Linked DNA regions of Homo sapiens: regions 2 and 3 are each linked to region 1. The links are contacts of gene promoters, found by promoter capture Hi-C in blood cells and fetal thymus (Javierre and others, 2016). All regions are on one chromosome and are shown on one strand. Each heading gives the region's core, a stretch centred on a gene start or on the middle of the fragment in contact. The rest is flanking DNA. Distances are from core to core; before and after follow the strand shown. Region 1 holds the start of CACNB4 (calcium voltage-gated channel auxiliary subunit beta 4). Region 2 overlaps STAM2 (signal transducing adaptor molecule 2). Region 3 overlaps CACNB4 (calcium voltage-gated channel auxiliary subunit beta 4).

Region 1 (2,700 bases), core at 192-2,691:
CACCTAAGCATTGAGCATTACCAGCGATCCGGAGATCCCGAGCACAGACAATTCGCACTAGAACCACGCAGGAGAAAGCAAGCACTAAGAAAACAAACACGAAGTGAAGGCGCACCCAGACCCGGAGCTGAGTGCTGGCCTTCGTTAATTCCTATTTAACCAGATACAGCTGTCTTTCCCTAACTAAGCGAATCCAAGAAGCGGTCCTAAAGTGAGAGTAAACTTTCTGCTCAGTGTCTTTCTTTTGACCGGAGCTTGACGATCTCTCCCAAGATCCAGACAGATAAGAGTATTCAAATTAGGACAAAACAGAAGAAACCACTAAATCTCAACTCGAATCAAACCAGGTCCCCGGCCCCGAGGGGTCTGGTTACTCTAGGTCGAGTTATACGAATTAAAGACATTTCTCCACGCACCAAAGATACAACCAGACATATTTCCAGCTCTTAAATTCAACGTCCCTGACTTAAGCCAGGTCCCCACCGAACTGTCCACACACATGCACAAACTAACTTCCCGGGGCGGTGCGGAGACGCCGGGACGCGAAGACGTCAAGAGCCCAGGCTAGAGGGAGAGGGACTGAGCCCGAGCACCGGCCGAGGCCGGGAAGAGACGCGCGCGGGCTTGACCCGCAGCTCCCGCACGTGTGGGCCACGGCCGGCTCCAGGACCCCCGCGCCGCGCGCTCGGCCTCCTCCCCATCCTGGTCTCCCGCCTCCTTCTCATACCTGTCTGAGGATGAAGCTGGTCGAAGTGGTGCTGCCATCGGATCTTTTCAACCTGCTCCTCCGGGTTGTGGTGCCTCGGGCCACCTGGACTCGACACACGGGGGCCAGAGAGAAGCCGGTGAGGACCGCAGCGCAGAGCGGGGCGACCACCCCCGGCTGGAGTCCGCCTCCGGACCCGCTCCCTGGGGTCCCCTAGAGCCCGCACCCAAGTCTCCTCCGCGACTCCCAAATACAGCCCCCACCCCCACCCACCCACTGCAAGCCTCGACTGCTGAAAAGATGCTCGAGAAGAGCAGCCCGCAAGCACCCACCACATCCATTAACAAAGACTCTCAGGGTGCGGGGTCCGAGTCCCCGGCATCCGCTGGGGGAGGCTGCGGGCTCCGGAGCGGGAGCGCAGAGACCCGAAGGAGGGTGAGGAGGAGGAGGAAGAGAAGGAGGAGAAAGAGGAGGAGCGGGAGGAGAAAGGGACGTGGAGGAGGGGTGGGGGGAGCGGGGCCGCCGACTCCCGGGACTGGGGCCCCGCACGCCCGGCACGAAGGCGGGGCGCGCTAGGGCGGCGGAGGAGGTGTGAGGAAGGAAGAGGAGGAAGAGGAGAAGGGGGAGGAGGGGGCGGTACCTGCGAGGTGGGGGAGTGCGGCCCGTCCGCGGTCCCGTTCTTGGCGTAGGAGGAGGAGGACATCGTTCAGAGCCGCCGCATGGCCAGCCCGTGTGCGGTGGGCGGAGGGGGCTGGCCCCCGAGGCTGGGCTGCGGACGGAGGGGGAGGGCGCAGGACTTCCCCACCCGGCTCCAGGACCCGCGCCGGCGCCCAGGCTCCCTGCCCGCACTTCGGAGAGCGCGGCACCTTAAAGGGACCGAGGCGCTTCCCCCGCGCTCGCGGCGGGGTCCCGGGGAGGGGGCTTCTCGGAAACTCGCCTACCCGAGCGGATTGGGAGAAGCGCTCTCCCACCTAGCAAGCGCTTTACATCAGAGCTTCCAGAGGATGAAGGGAGGGGGAAATCTGGGATGGGGGTGGCAAGATTAAAATAGTCTGCACAGTTTAAAATGAGACAAAGGTGGCACGGTTCATGAATCAGGACTTGGGGACGGAAGCTGGTGCAGTGTGGCGGGAATGGGAAGAACCGAGCGGGTGTGTGTGTGTGTGTTTGCTGCACTGGAATTTTAAAAGGGCAAGAGCAGAGCCACCTTCCGCGACTTCACTCATCAGCCTAATGTGTAAGGCATGGGGTTTTGTGGCTTGCTTTTCGTCCGTGTTTTTGTATTGCTTTGGCAATTCTGTCCTTAGAGCTGCGAGTCACACACATCCAGGCAGCTGTGAGAAACCCAGCCAGCCTGAGTCTGACGGGAGATGCTGCCCCGCCAAAGACCAGTATGTCCTACGGAGTTTTGAAGGTCATGTTAGACCTGCTAAGAAGCAAGAGTTGGTCACTGTGCCTCCCATTTCTATGCGAATGGATATTTTCAAGGGGGAGAAACTCATCCTTGCAACCATACACAACGTTTGCCATTGGTTTCCTCCTGTAAATACATACAAGAGATTAATTTGTGATCAAATTAAAAGAGAGGGATTGCGGAAAGGAAGAATAAGTGCGAGGTATTGACAGAGGAATAAGAAGAGGGAAGAAAAGTATATGCAAATTCAAAAATAAAGAGACTCCGTTTAAATTAAAATATACTTACTATCTCAAATCGCTAAATCAGCTTGCATTCTAGGACTTTATGTTTATGGACACAACTACCATGCTTGTTTTAATAATTGCTTGGCTTTATTGAGGTCCTGGTTATATCTTACCATCCACCAGACACTTCCTTTCCATTCCTAATCCCTTCACTTAATCCAAACCTCTGTAACAATCTTATAACTAATGTCCTTGCCTCCAGGCTTCCTGGTGCATGTGCACGTATGCACATGCACACATACACACGCAGAGATTTCATTCCATCTACACACTACAGGCAAAACCATTTTCCT
Region 2 (2,700 bases), core at 170-2,669, 72 kb after region 1:
CACCTCCATCTCCCGAGTAGCTCGGACTACAGGTGCGCGCCACCATGCTCAGCTAATTTTTGTATTTTTTGTAGAGATGGGGTTTCATCATGTTGCCCTGACTGATCTCGAACTCCTGAGATCAAGCAATCCACCAAGTGTTTGGATTGCAGGTGTGAGTCACTGCACCCTGCCATCAATTTTTAAAAAGTAACCCAACAGAATAATAAAAGTAATGAGCAGGCAATTTATAGAAAAAGAAAACAGAATGATGAAGAAACATATGAAAAAATGCTCATCTTCACTGGCAATGAAGTAGAAATAGAAAATGAAATGAAAACAATGTCTTACTTCATATTCATCAGATAGGCATAAATTAGAAAATCTGACAATGCTCAGCATTAGTGAGGATGTGGAACAACAGGAATTTCACTGCTGACAGGAGGGAAATCAACAAACACTTGGAAGGGCAACTTTGCAAGAGCTACACTTTTTTTTTTTTTTTGAGATGGAGTCTCACTCTGTTGCCCCAGCTGGAGTGCAGTGGCACAATCTCCGCCTCCCAGGTTCAAGTGATTCTTCTACCTCAGCCTCCCGAGTAGCTGAGATGACAGGCATTCACCACCACACTCAGCTAAGTTTTGTATTTTCAGTAGAGACACGTTTCATCATGTTGGCCAGGCTGGTCTCAAACTCCTGACCTCAGAAGATTTGTCCACCTCAGCCTCCCAAAGTGCTGGGATTACAGGCATGAGCCACCACACCAGGCCAAGAGCTACACTTCTACTGAAGAATTCCCCTTCAAGACGACAACCTTTAAGAATTTTGCACTCCACTGGGCACAGTGGCTCATATCTGTAATCCCAGCACTTTGGGAGGCCAAGACGGGCGGATCACGAGGTCAGGAGTTCGAGACCAGCCTGGCCAACATGTGAAACCCCGTCTCTACTAAAAATACAAAAAAAAATTACCTGGGCATGGTAGCAGGCGTCTGTAATCCCAGCTACTTGGGAGGCTGAGGCAGGAAAATCATTTGAACCTGGGAGATGGAGGTTGCAGCGAGCTGAGATCGCGCCACTGCACTCCAGCCTGGGTGACAGGGCAAGACTCCGTCTCAAAAAAAAAAAAAAAAGAATCTTGCACCCATAAACACAAGAAAACATAGATAAAAACTTTCAATACAGAGCTGTCTGTAGGTGCAAGAAATTGAAAACAAAGTCATGTTCGTCAATAGGACAACAGATAATGCATATTCATATAGTAGTATAGTATCACGCAGCCATTAAAATTTATAACCTAGAGCTACAAACATCAACATGAATAACTCTCACGAAGAAATGCTGAATGGGCCAGGCACGGTGGCTCACGCCTGTAATCCCAGCACTTTGGGAGGCCAAGGCAGGCAGATCACCTAAGGTCAGGAGTTCGAAACTGGCATGGCCAACATGGCGAAATCCCATCTCTGCTAAAAAATGCAAAATTAGCCGAGCATGGTGGTGCGCACCTGTAACCCCAGCTACTCGGGAGGCTGAGGCACAAGAATTGCTTGAACCTGGGAAGCAGAGGTTGCAGTGAGCTGAGATTACACCACTGCACTCCAGCCTGGGCGACAGAGCAAGACTCCGTCTCAAAAAAGAAGAAATGCTGGATGACAAAAGTTGCAGAATGACAAAAAGACACCATTTTTAAGAAGTTTAAAAACATCCAAACAATATATAGTATATTTGTAAGTGTAGTATTATACTATTAAAGAGAATTTCTATCTATTTATAGAGTGTTTAACTCGGAGAAAGGAGGAAGAATGGGATCAGGTAGCTGCTAAAAATACTAAAGTATTTCACTGCATCTTGAATGTTCCTTTCTTAAAAAAAAAGAATCAAGTATATCAAAATATTAGCACTTGACATAATTGCCTGGCAGGAATGGGAGTTCATATTTTCTATTTTATGCTGAAAATATTTCATAGTTTAAAAAGCTACAAAATATATTAGAAAAAAAACTGGCTGTTAAGTCTACTATTCTTATTCAAAACCAAAAAACTTTTTAAAAAAATTTTTACTTTTACAAAGATTTTAACTTATTGTACAAAGAGTGGCCTAGTTAAGTAAATGTTATAAATTTGTGTGTATGTTATGAATTTATATTATTCTTATGCTATCAATATCTATTTTTATATTGGGATTTCTTATAAAATTTCACTGGAGAAAAGGACTGCATGACTGCATTTCACTGGAGAAAGTCCCAAGCTACTTCCTGGTCAACTTCTTCTAACACAGCAAAAGTCAGAAACACAGCAATACACACATTAAAATGTCACTTGGAAATGTATTCTCTTAAAAGCTAACAATTCAAACCACTGCGTCCACAGAGTTTTGTAGAGGTAGAATTTGAGCTCAGCTTTGTGGGACACAAGCGTATCTTTAAAGGAAATACCAAGGTTGAAAAGAGCAAACATTTAGCAATGAATGGTAAATAGCACAGAGGCAGAAAACTGGCAAGAAAGATTGCCTGGCTTGAGTAAAGGGAAAAAAGATATGCAAACAAGAACCGGAGTTAAGGCTTAGAACAGACAAGTCATGACTTGGAAATCAATGAATAAGGAAATGACATCTTCTCTGTTAACACTAACCACTGTGGCCCCGTCCCCCATGTTTCACTTTCCCCTTGGAATTCTACAAGAATGGCTACTCCAACCAGGCTCTACCTCAAGATCCCTGTACC
Region 3 (2,700 bases), core at 72-2,571, 73 kb before region 1:
GTCATTTTGGCTAAATTATTTGCAAATACTAGCTTATCTATTGCTAGACAGTGAGCAAATTCTATTCTCCTAATCCTACACTACCTCTGAAACCTCTTCTTTCATATGTGTAAATTAAGTTTGATAGCTTTCCTGAAAACAGGAAATTGTTCAAAAGACTTAATTTTTTCTTTCCTGTCATAAAAAGTGTAATAGCTCAAGCTTCAGAGGCGAGAGCTGGGGAACGGTGGAATGAGAACCAAGAAAGACAACGACATTTTCTCTCAAACTGTCTACTTCAGACAACCTTATTCCAGATATGAGCACAAACTGGACTCGCTGCTAGCTCACAGCCTCTATTGTAAGCATAAGAAAGAGCAGAAATAAGACAAATATGCATTGTGCCTTAAATGCAAAGGAAGTGGCTGTAACACTAAAAGAATGATTGCCCAGGGGCCAGATTAAATAAAAAATCTAGGAGTTTGGAATATCTCAAATCATCTATGAAGTACAGAAAATATTTTGTTATTGTGACACAACAGCCTCTCTTCTAAAAGGAAAATAAACTTCAGGAAATTGAACTTCAAAGATGCCACTGTTTCAGTCATCAAAATTGGACATACCGTACTGTGTATTTTAAAGGAATAGTGCCCCCGTGTGGTTTTTGACAAGATTTCAGAAAATGTTCAGCGTTGTCTCAGAAGTCACAGTTACACTTGTTATACAAGAAACAGTGAATTTTTCTTGTGTGGATTTATTTTTAAATGTGATTACAGATGTGTTTGCAGTATAGTAGAAAAACGTCAGAGCTGTGAAGAGCTGTGTTTGCAGCGGGAGGGTTGCTCCATCTATCTCCGTGTTTAGTAAAGAGGATGTGAGAACAGGACGTGCACAGGGCGCCCCCTGCAGGTGCTGATGCAGCCGACACCTCTGGAGGCGCAGGGCCGAGGCCACCACAAGTCACTTGGCATGAATGTCCACAGAGCTTCCTAGGAGCTACCAGAAGTGAACCACATCTCCCCTCTTACCTGCAGTGGGTTCACACACTCTGCCTTTTCTCGTTGTTGTGAACAAACTGACCAAATCCCTTACAGACCGGCCCTTCCACTCGAGCACTGGATCTTACTCCAGGACAGGGCCCCAGCAATTTTCCTCCTTCCCTCCTGAATCTTCAGCGTCTTCCTTTCCACTGGACTGTTTCCATCAGCGTCAACATATAAACATGCTATCATATTAATAAAAACCCTCTCTGGGCTCCACTTCTCTAGTCCCTTTTTTTTTTTTTCTTCTTCTTTGAGACAGGTTCTCGCTCTGTCACCCAGGCTGGAGTGCAGTGGTGCCATCTCTGCTCACTGCAACCTCTGCCTCCTGGGCTCAAGCGATTCTCATGCCTCAGCCCCCTGAATAGCTGGGAATACAGGTGCATGCCACCACGCGCAGCTAATTTTTGTACTTTTAGCAGAGATGAGGTTTCTCCATGTTGGCCGGGCTCGAACTCCTGACCTCAGGTGATCTGCCTGCCTCGGCCTCCCAAAGTGCTGAGATTACAGCCATGAGCCACTGCACTCGGCCTCCACTCCCTTTTACTGCTATAGTACCTAGAAGAATTGTCCATATTAACTGACTCTAACTTCAATCTTTCCATTCTCTCTTGAACCCATTCCAATAAGGCTTTTCTGCTCACTACTCCAGACCAAAACTGGTCTTACTGAGGTCACCAATGGTATCCATATTGTTAAGTCCATTGGGGAATCTTGGGCTCATCTAACTTGACCCATTGACAGCATTTGACACAATTATCTTTCTTTTTTTTTTTTGATACGGAGTTTCACTCTGTCACCCAGGCTGGAGTGCAGTGGTGTAATCTCAGCTCACTGCAACCTCCACCTCCTGGGTTCAAGCGATTCTTCTACCCCAGCCTCCTCAGTAGCTGGGATTACAGGCACATGCCACCATGCCCGGCTAATTTTCGTATTTTTAGTAGAGACAGGGTCCACGTTGGCCAGGCTGGTCTCAAACTCCTGGCCTCAGGTGGTCCGCCCACCTCAGCCTCCCAAAGTGTTGAGATTACAGGCGTGAGCCAGGGCTCCCAGCCACATTCCTCCTTTCTTAGAATCATTTCTTCTGTTGGCTTTCAGGCACCTCCTCCCATTTTTCTGGCCACTCCTTCATCTCCTTTGTATTGTTTCAGCAAATATCTACTGAGAGCCTCTGACTGCCTGGGGCAGTTCTCAGCTGTGGAAATTGGATGCTGAACAAATCAAAGAGCTTACAATCTAGCAGAAGAAACTGTAATTAGATAGATTTTAAATATAAAATCAGGTATTCACAAGTTATGGTCAGGAAAGCCTCCCTGAGTTTTCAAGCTCCTCCCCTGCCACCTCCCCTCCTGACTCACACCAAGGGAAGTGACAGGAAAGCCATGTGCTACCTCTTTGGCTCCAGTGGGAAGCTCAAACCACACAAGCTTTGGCCCCAGCCCAAACCACTGACCACCATAAAAGCCAAAGCCGAGGCGGGCGGATCACGAGGTCAGGAGATCGAGACCAGCCTGACCCACACGGTGAAACCCAGTCTCTACTAAAAATACAAAAATTACCTGGGCTTGGTGGCGCACGCCTATAATTCCAGCTACTCAGGAGGCTGAGGCAGGAGAATCGCTTGAACCCGGGAGGCGGAGGTTGCAGTGAGTCGAGATTGTTGCCACTGCACTCCAGCCCG

What was found. The method cuts DNA at HindIII sites, captures the fragments that hold promoters and counts their contacts. A CHiCAGO score of 5 or more calls a contact.
Region 2: a fragment that was not itself captured here is called in contact with the fragment with the promoter of CACNB4 in region 1 in 1 of 17 cell types (M2 macrophages); the score reaches 5.5 in M2 macrophages.
Region 3: a contact is called between a fragment that was not itself captured here and the fragment with the promoter of CACNB4 in region 1, in 1 of 17 cell types (M2 macrophages). The highest score is 5.6, in M2 macrophages.

What each region holds. Positions count from the first base shown.
Region 1 is chr2:152,097,603-152,100,302 of GRCh38, forward strand. CACNB4 (calcium voltage-gated channel auxiliary subunit beta 4) reads right to left here and starts at 1,442. Exons shown (of 14, transcript NM_000726.5): 1 at 1,347-1,442; 2 at 728-811. The coding sequence starts at 1,409. RefSeq lists a silencer at 1,351-1,640. The HindIII fragment of the contact is 7,735 bases long and covers 1-2,700 here.
Region 2 is chr2:152,169,388-152,172,087 of GRCh38, forward strand. All of the region lies in intron 1 of STAM2 (signal transducing adaptor molecule 2), which reads right to left. Among named protein-coding and RNA genes, the nearest start is that of STAM2, 5.0 kb to the right of the region's middle. The HindIII fragment of the contact is 4,391 bases long and covers 1-2,700 here.
Region 3 is chr2:152,025,129-152,027,828 of GRCh38, forward strand. All of the region lies in intron 2 of CACNB4 (calcium voltage-gated channel auxiliary subunit beta 4), which reads right to left. Among named protein-coding and RNA genes, the nearest start is that of CACNB4, 73 kb to the right of the region's middle. RefSeq lists an enhancer at 1,003-1,072. The HindIII fragment of the contact is 2,245 bases long and covers 200-2,444 here.